Regions from separate parts of the Homo sapiens genome. Here region 1 is linked to region 2. The links are contacts of gene promoters, found by promoter capture Hi-C in human tissues and cell types (Jung and others, 2019). All regions are on one chromosome and are shown on one strand. Each heading gives the region's core, a stretch centred on a gene start or on the middle of the fragment in contact. The rest is flanking DNA. Distances are from core to core; before and after follow the strand shown. Region 1 has its middle 32 kb from the start of SUN1. Region 2 holds the start of PDGFA (platelet derived growth factor subunit A).

What was found. The method cuts DNA at HindIII sites, captures the fragments that hold promoters and counts their contacts. A contact is called where the count stands out against the background at its distance.
Region 1: a fragment that was not itself captured here is called in contact with the fragment with the promoter of PDGFA in region 2 in 3 of the 25 tissues and cell types used here (IMR-90 fibroblasts, dorsolateral prefrontal cortex and pancreas).

What each region holds. Positions count from the first base shown.
Region 1 is chr7:797,871-802,376 of GRCh38, reverse strand. No RefSeq gene overlaps it. Among named protein-coding and RNA genes, the nearest start is that of SUN1, 32 kb to the left of the region's middle. RefSeq lists an enhancer at 4,288-4,506. The HindIII fragment of the contact is 9,331 bases long and covers 1-4,506 here.
Region 2 is chr7:517,275-521,959 of GRCh38, reverse strand. It overlaps PDGFA (platelet derived growth factor subunit A), which reads left to right and starts at 2,114. Exons shown (of 6, transcript NM_033023.5): 1 at 2,114-3,021; 2 at 4,470-4,566. The coding sequence starts at 2,959. It overlaps PDGFA-DT (PDGFA divergent transcript), which reads right to left and starts at 1,569. Exons shown (of 3, transcript NR_033963.1): 1 at 1-1,569. RefSeq lists enhancers at 1-556, 2,401-3,322, 4,245-4,685 and silencers at 1,645-1,984, 2,085-2,174, 2,455-2,594, 3,055-3,144. The HindIII fragment of the contact is 45,371 bases long and covers 1-4,685 here.

The DNA.
Region 1 (4,506 bases), core at 1,148-3,647, 280 kb before region 2:
AAGGGGCCAGGCGGAAGCACCAGACAAGAATAGGCACCCCGGAGCTGAGTGGAGGCGGCCTCTGAGGCTGCGCGTGGCAAGTCTGGGGGTGGGGCTGGCACCGTGGGGATTAAACAAAGCTCCCGGCTGGAACCCATGATCCTCCATACCGAGGCCACGGGGCAACTGGCGGCTGGCCAGCGTCCCCAGTCAAGGAACCAGATCCACGGAGCAACTGCTCCAGAGGGCTTTCGAGAGGGCCAGGCTCCCCAAGCCACTCCTTCCTCAGTCTGGCATCTGGCGAGGTTCCCAATGCCTCTTCCCTTTCCACGCCTCACAAGGCTGGACACCTGGAAACCCTCCCCTTGGACACGAGGCTTCCCGTCAACCTCTTTGTTTCTGAGAGAGGCCGGAGAGGAAGGTGAGCTACCTGGAGGATGAAGCAAGGTCTCCATTCGTAACTGGGAGACACCAGGAAAACCAGCAGCCCAGAAGAGAAGGACCAGAGACCAGGAGACAAAAGGACTCCTTCCAGCGAGAGCAAGGAGATTCAGAAATAGCAGAGAACGGCCGCGCACGGTGGCTCACGCCTGTAATCCCAGCACTTTGGGAGGCTGAGGCGGGCAGATCACCTGAGGTCAGGAGTTCAAGACCAGCCTGGCCAACATGGTGAAACCCCATCTCTACTAAAAACACAAAAATTAGCCAGGTGTGGTGGTGTGCACCTGTAATCCCAGCTTCTTGGGAGGCTGAGGCAGGAAAATTGCTTGAATCTGGGAGGCGGAGGCTGCAGTGACTGGAGATGGCGCCACTGCACTCCAGTGTGGGCGACAGAGTAAGACTCTGTTTCAAAAAAAAAAAATGTTTTTTCATACTGTATGATTCCACTTACATAAAAAAGACAACTAATCTACAGTGACAGAGGCAGTTCAGGGTTGCCAGAGCCGGGAGCGAGGGTGTGGTTTGACTTCGAAGGGGCTCAAGAAAACTTTTAGAGGTAACAGAAATGTTCTATATCTTGATGGTAATTGTGATGACATAACTATATATACTTGCAAAAACTCATCAAAATATATAATTACAATAGGCCAGGCGTGGTGGCTCACGCCTGTAACCCCAGCACTTTGGGAGGCCAAGGCAGGTGGAGCACCTGAGGTCAGGAGTTCAAGACCAGCCTGGCCAACATGGTGAAACCCCGTCTCTACCAAAAATACAAAATTAGCTGGGTGCGGTGGTGCATGCCTGTAATCCCAGGTATTTGGGAGGCTGAGGCAGGAGAATCGCTTGAACCCGGGAGGTGGAGGTTGCAGTGAGCCGAGATCGCACCACTGCCCTCCAGCCTGGGCGACAGAGCCAGACTCTGTCTCAAAATATATATAGCCATAATCAGAAAATACTGCGGATTTATTTTTAGTCTTTGGCATCAATCTACATGTAAACCATGAAAAAGGTGAATATTTTCCATCTGTTCTAACTATAAATAGTAACCTTGGCTCTGGAACTGCAACTGTCCAGCTGTTATGAGTTGGGAGGTGGGTGGGAGGGAGAGAAAGAGGAAAGGATGGGACCCTCATCTTCCGGGGAACAGAGGAAAGATACTGTCCAAAGTTGGTGGGACAAGAGACAGAGGTTTAAGTCCTGTAAATTATTATCATTATTTGAGGCAGAGTCTCATTCTGCTACCCACTGCAGCCTCGAAGTCTCGAACTTCTGGGCTTAAGTGATGCTCCCACCTTGGCCCCATGAATAGCTAACACTACAGGTGTGCACCACCATGCCCAGCTCATTTTTTAACTTTTTGTAGAGACAGTCTTGCTTTGTTACCCAGAGTGGTCTTGAAATTCCTGGCCTTGCCGGGCATGGTGGCTCATGCCTGTAATCCCAGCACTTTGGGCGGCCAAGGCGGGAGGATCACGAGGTCAGGAGATCGAGACCATCCTGGCCAACACACGGTGAAACCCCATCTCCATTAAAAATAAAAAAAAAAATTAGCTGGGCGTAGTGGCGGGCTCCTGTAGTCCCAGCTACTTGGGAGGCTGAGGCAGGAGAATGGTGTGAACCTTGGGAGGTGGAGCTTGCAGTGAGTGGAGATCGCACCACTGCACTCCAGCCTGGGCGACAGAGCGAGACTCCATCTCAAAAAAAAAAAAAAAAAAAAAAGAAAAGAAAAATTCTTGGCCTCAAGTGAGCGTCCTGCCTCAGTCCCCCAAAGTGCTGGTATTACAGGCACATGCCACCATGCCCAGCCAATGCCTGCTTTTCATATCTGTCCCACAGTCATGTAAAATGTTAACACCAGGAGAACCTGAGCAAAGTGTATATATGGGAACTGTACTATTTTTGCAATTTTTCTGTTAAGAAGTGTAAAGTTTCTTTCTGTCTTTCTTCCTTCCTTCCTTTTTCTGTTTTTTTTTTTTTTTGGAGACGGAGTCTTGCTATGTCACCAGGCTGGAGTGCGGTGGCGCAATCTCGGCTCACTGCAATCTCCACCTCCTGGGTTCAAGTGATTCCCCTGCCTCAGCCTGCCAAGTAGCTGGGACTGCAGGCACATGCCACCACGCCTGGCTAATTTTTTGTATTTTAGTAGACACGGGATTTCACCATGTTGGCCAGGATGGTCTCGATATCCTGACCTCATGATCCGCCCGCCTCAGCCTCCCAAAGTGCTGGGATTACAGGTGTGAGCCACCACGCCCAGCCCTAAAGTTATTTCAATAAAGAATTTAAAATATATGGCCAGCCGTGGTGGCTCATGCCTGTAACTCCAGCACTTTGGGAGGCCAAGGCGGGAGGATCACTTGAGGTTAGAAGTTCGAGATCAGCCTGGACAACATGGCAAAACCCTGTCTCTACTAAATGCTGGGATTACAGGCATGAGCCACTGTACCTGGCCAATAATAAAATAATTCTACAACTTTGAAAATGTAAAGTCAGTCGGAGCCCTGAGCTTGTTTTCCTGCAACTAGATGGTCCCATCTGTGGGTGATGGGAGACAATGACAGATCATCAGGCATTAGATTCTCATAAGGAGTGTGAAACCTAATCCCTCTCATGCACAGTTCACAATGGGGTTCATGCTTCTGTGAGAACTGAATGCTGATGCTGATCTGACAAAGTGGAGCTCAGGCGGTAACGTCAGCGATGGGAGCGGCTGTAAATACAAATGAAGCTTTACTGGCTGGCCCGCTGCTCACCTCTGGCTATGTGGCCTGGTTCCTAACAGGCCACATTCTGTGGCCCGGGGGTTGGGGACCCCTGCTGTAAACGACGGTCTTGGTGTGGTCAGGAGCAGAGGCCCCTGGGAGCTGGTGCTCCACCTCCTTCAAGGTGCCGGACCTCAGCGGGGCCTGTGCTCTATCCACAAGCCTGCTTGCTTCTGGGTCCCGATTTTGTCTGTTAGTGCTTGTCTTCTTGTTGGAAGCCATCTCTTCCCTGGTGGGATGAATGAGCTATTAACAAATTATTTATTTATTTATTTAATTTTTTTTGGAGATGGAGTCTCGCTCTGTCGCCCAGGCTGGAGTGCAGTGGCACCATCTCAGCTCTCTGCAACCTCCGCCTCCCTGGTTCAAGCGACTCTCCTGCCTCAGCCTCCCAAGTAGCTGGGATTACAGGTGCGCACCACCACGAGCAGCTCATTTTTTTATATTTTTAGTAGAGATGGGGTTTCACCATGTTGGCCAGGCTGGTTTCGAACTCCTGACCTCAAGTGATCCACCCATCTCAGCCTCCCAAAGTGCTAGGATTACAACGTGAGCCACTGCATCTGGCTATATTTACTAGAGACAGGGTTTCACCATGTTGGCCAGGCTGGTCTCAAACTCCTGACCTCAAATGATCTGCCTGCCTCAGCCTCTCAAAATGCTCGGATTACAGGCATGAGCCCCTGCACATGGCCCCTTTGTTCCATTCTTTTATTTATTTATTTTAATTTTATTTTTTTAAGACAGAGTCTCGCTCTGTCGCCGAAGCTGGAGTGCAGTGGCGTGATCTCAGCTCACTGCAACCTCCTCCTTCCGAGTGCAAGCAATTCTCCTGCCTCAGCCTCCCAAGTAGCTGTGACTACAGGTGCACGCCACCATACCTGGCTAATTTGTTGTATTTTAGTAGAGATGGAGCTGCATCGTGTTGCCCAGGCTGGTCTCAAACCCCTGAGCTCAGGCAATCTGCCCACCTCGGCCTCCCAAAGTGCTAGGATTACAGGCATGAGCCACTGTGCCTGGCCATCGCATACTGTAAATAAACATTCAGACATGCAGAGGCTGCTAGCCTGGAGCACCTGTCAGTGACGGCAAGTCTTCCAGTCTGGACGGGCACAAAGTGGCTGTTATGTGAGCACATCCCTGGAGGGGCGGGATCCATGGGTGGTGAACACGGGGCCGTGCTCCCAGCCCTGCCCCGGGAGGGAAAGAATCTGGGCTGGAAGGTTTCCTGGGCCGCAGGCAGATGGAGGAACCCCGCGGCCCTGTGCTGGCTGCATTCTCACTGGTCTTCTGACGGGACGCCCTCGCCTGTCCAGGTGGTTCA
Region 2 (4,685 bases), core at 865-3,364:
CCATGGCGACGGGTCGCGGTTTTATTTTTAATAGCGGCCGGCGATTAGAGAGATGCCTGCACCGCTTTCGCCTAAGCTCTGCGTCCCCCGCGGGTGAAGCACCCACGCCCCGCCCCAGCCCCCGCCTCGCTCCAGCGCCCCTTGCACGTCCCCAGGTGGCCCTAAACTCTAGCTGGGCGCACCCGTAGCTCCAGGCCGGGCAGGGGAGCCGAGGGAAGCAGCCATCTAGGCCCTCAGAGGCGGCGAGGACCCCCAGGATCCCTCAAGCTGGGAGGGACGGGTACCCCATCCCCAATACAACGCGACCTTCCTCCTTGCCTTCCACACCGTCTTACCGAGTCCTCTAACCCCACAGAGGTGTCCTCGGGCCCCCTCTGCGCGCGAGCAGTCCGAGGCCCAGGAAGACAGGATGCGCGCCACTCCGGGATAACTGGCCGAAGAATGAGGCCGGGGTCCGGCCTGCGTCCTGGCCCTGCGAGTCCGGCTCTTTCCAGAAGCCATGCAGTGGGTGTCCCCTCCCAAGCCGCAAGTTCCCCCTGGAGGGACAAGGCCTGGCTTTAAGGGGCTCCTCCACGTTTCCAAGGCTCCCCTGGTTCTGTCCCGGTCCCGCTTGGTCCTGACCACCCAGAGGGCATGCTTGACCGCGGGGGTCGTGGTGTGGGGCTGCGGCCAACGGAAGGGAGAGACGTGGGGAGGGGGCCTGCAGGTGTGTGGAAGGGCGCGTGTAGACGCGACCCACTGGGAGCGGAGGGAGAGGCGTCGCTCCCCAAATATTTGGGGGAAGGGGAGAGCCCCCGAAGCGCTCTCCGGATTCGGCCTTTGAAATGCTAGAGCTGGCCTAGCTGGGGATGAAAGACCGCCCGCGGGGCTGCGCCTTAACGGCCTTTGTCTGGAGGGAGGGCGACCGCGACGGGGGCAGGGGTTTAATCGACAGGGTTGGGGGTGACGGCTGGGCCGGGCGGGATTCTCCGCTGCTCACCCAAGGAAGCGTCTCCTGGGCTCCAGGGGCCTAGGCCGTCTAGCCTCGGGGTCTGCACAGCACGCCACCCCGCTGGACCCGGTACCAGGACGCGTAGACCCCCTGGCAGGGCACTGACGAGCACCTGGACCTGTAGTCAGGGTCCAATCCCTCCTGGTCTAGGGAGGCGAAATCCATCCAGCCCAGGCGCACCCGCCCTTTCTCGGCGTGGGAGCCGTCTAGCCACGCTCAGACCTCGGCCTCCGCGCGCGTTCCTCCCCCGCATCGCGCTCTGAGCTGCGCCTCGGCCGGAGGTGGCGCTCTGTGCGCCCCACGGATCCCGACGCGGGAGGCTCAGAACCCGGGGGACCCTCACCGGTGGCTCCTTTCCCTTCCATCCCCTCGACTTCCCGGCTCAGGGCGCGGCCCTGCCTTCGGCGCGGGAGTGGGGGACTGGGGGGCGCGGGGTCCCAGGGTGGGGACGAGGCGGGCTGCAGGCCCTTTCCCCGACTGGAGCTCGCTCCCAAGTGGAAATGTGGGTGGAGGGTCCTCATTCAGATGCCCCAGGCCTCGGATCCTGGGCGGGGGCGCGTGGCAGCCGCCAGGTGAGTGCCCCAAACCCGCCCCCCTCCTTCCCCAAAGACTGACTCCCCCTCCTTTTATGGAGAGAGGAAGGCTGGGGCCCTGGATCCGAACCGTGGAGAGCGGCCGGAGCGCCGGGGCGGGGGCGGGGACCGGCTCTCTGGCCCTTTTTGGCGCAGCAGCTCTGGGCGCTGCCCGCTGCCGCCGCTGGGGCCCGAGAGAGGCGAGCCGGCGACGGCGGCGCTTCTGCGGCGGCCTCCTCCCTCCCCACCCGGTGCCGCAGGATTGCAGCTGGCACTGGAGGGTGGGCAAGCTCGAGGGAGGGGCGCGGAGCCCCGGCGCGGAGCCGGGCGCGGGGCTTTGATGGATTTAGCTGCTTGCGCGAGCGCGTGTGTGCTCCCTGCCGCGGCGGCGGCGCCCGGGCCCTGCCGGGTCCGCACGAACCCCGAGCGCTTCCGAGGTGCGGGTCCCAGGCCCGGAATCCGGGGGAGGCGGGGGGGGGGGGCGGGGGCGGGGGCGGGGGAGGGGCGCGGCGGCGGCGCTATAACCCTCTCCCCGCCGCCGGCCGGCTCCACACGCGCGCCCTGCGGAGCCCGCCCAACTCCGGCGAGCCGGGCCTGCGCCTACTCCTCCTCCTCCTCTCCCGGCGGCGGCTGCGGCGGAGGCGCCGACTCGGCCTTGCGCCCGCCCTCAGGCCCGCGCGGGCGGCGCAGCGAGGCCCCGGGCGGCGGGTGGTGGCTGCCAGGCGGCTCGGCCGCGGGCGCTGCCCGGCCCCGGCGAGCGGAGGGCGGAGCGCGGCGCCGGAGCCGAGGGCGCGCCGCGGAGGGGGTGCTGGGCCGCGCTGTGCCCGGCCGGGCGGCGGCTGCAAGAGGAGGCCGGAGGCGAGCGCGGGGCCGGCGGTGGGCGCGCAGGGCGGCTCGCAGCTCGCAGCCGGGGCCGGGCCAGGCGTCCAGGCAGGTGATCGGTGTGGCGGCGGCGGCGGCGGCGGCCCCAGACTCCCTCCGGAGTTCTTCTTGGGGCTGATGTCCGCAAATATGCAGAATTACCGGCCGGGTCGCTCCTGAAGCCAGCGCGGGGAGCGAGCGCGGCGGCGGCCAGCACCGGGAACGCACCGAGGAAGAAGCCCAGCCCCCGCCCTCCGCCCCTTCCGTCCCCACCCCCTACCCGGCGGCCCAGGAGGCTCCCCGCGCTGCGGGCGCGCACTCCCTGTTTCTCCTCCTCCTGGCTGGCGCTGCCTGCCTCTCCGCACTCACTGCTCGCGCCGGGCGCGCTCCGCCAGCTCCGTGCTCCCCGCGCCACCCTCCTCCGGGCCGCGCTCCCTAAGGGATGGTACTGAATTTCGCCGCCACAGGAGACCGGCTGGAGCGCCCGCCCCGCGGCCTCGCCTCTCCTCCGAGCAGCCAGCGCCTCGGGACGCGATGAGGACCTTGGCTTGCCTGCTGCTCCTCGGCTGCGGATACCTCGCCCATGTTCTGGCCGAGGTTGGTGCCGCCCCCGCGCCCCGTCCCTGCGCCGGCTCCTCCGGCGCACACCCCCCGCCGGCTGGGGCGCCACGGGCTCTGCAGAGAGCGTTTTGGTTCCTGCCAGGGTGGTCGATGTTTAGATTTTCCCAACTGGGTTCTATTTTCTGCCATGCCTAAGTGTGTGTGGGGAGTTTCCAGCGTGTTGCGTCGGTCGCTCTGCCTCGGGGGGACCGGGGAGCAGCGAGGTGGACGAGTGGGCAGAAACTTCGGGGGGCGCAGTGTCCTCTCCGGGGAAGGGGAGCTGGGGCGCAGCGGGCGCTGCAGCAGCGGGGTGCGGGGAGCGGGGAAGGGGGTGTGTGTGAGCCGGCGGAGCCTGGGGAGGAGAGAAGGGCGGCGGATAAATAGGTAGGGGCGGCTGCTGCGGAAGCCCCTGGCCGGGCAGGGTGGGCAGCGCCAAGCTGCAGCCCTCGGTTCCCAGTCCCCAAGCCCGGCGGGGCTCAGGGCCGGCGCAGTCCCGCCCGCCCGGGCCTGCTTACAGGTGGCTGAGCGAGGCGAGCTGGGGCTGGGCCAGGCGTCCGCACCCTCCCACCGCGGCGTCCCCGCCCCCCCATCCCCATCCCCATCCCCATCCCCGGGAGCTTTGCTGTGATGAATGACTTTCCACAGCCCCCGTCGTGGGAACTTAGTGCTTCAGGCTCCCCAGCGACCCCCGACTCTCCTTAAAAATCGGGGAGGGGAGTGGGGGAGGCCAGAGGTGAGGGTGGTCTCCGCAGGGCACGGAGAGCTGCGCGAGGTGGAAGTTTAACCCTCGCTTTCCCTGGAGGCTTCTTCTCCCGGCCGCCGGCTGGATTTGGGCGTCTTAGTCGGCGCTAGGGCCGCGGCTGGGCCGGAGCCCGGGGTGGGGCGAGTGTGTGAGTGAGATGTGTGTGCGCGTGTGTGTGTCTGCGCGCGCGTGCGTGTGTTTGTGAGACGGAGAGACCTCTCCACGGGTTCGGCCCGGGATTCCGGGGCGTGAAATTTAAGCCCTGCCTGGATTAAAGTGTTAGGGCTGCCGTGACTCTCGCCGACCCGTGACGCATTTTAACTTGATCTTTCTAGATGTTGATCTCACTATTAAATCAGAAACTTTCGGCCCCCTCGCTGCCCCCTAGACCTTCTGTAACTGACACCCCGGGTGGAGGGGCCGGAGTGCGGGGGCTTTTGTCTGAAAATATAAAGGGGGGGGGGCTTTGATTTTGCAAAGGGCGGAACATGGATGCGGGTGGAGAATTTGGGGTCTCTTCCAGCCCCACCCCCGGCTTCTGGTTCCAGGGCCGGGGCGAGGGCTCCGCGGGGGCTGGGGCGGGGACTGCGGCCGGCGCTCGCGGGGTCTCCTCGGGCCCGGGGCGGCGGCGCTCCTGGCGGCCGGGGGCGCGTGCCGGCGGGGTCGGGGCCGCGGGCGCTGACCGTGTGGCCTCTGCTTGCAGGAAGCCGAGATCCCCCGCGAGGTGATCGAGAGGCTGGCCCGCAGTCAGATCCACAGCATCCGGGACCTCCAGCGACTCCTGGAGATAGACTCCGTAGGTAAATCGCGCCCCTTCCCTCCGCGCGCGGGGAGGGCGCGGGCGGGCGGCCTGTGCGCCCCGAGCTGGGGCCGGGCGGGGCGCCGCGCAGGAGCGCACCGAAAGGTCAGAATCCAATCC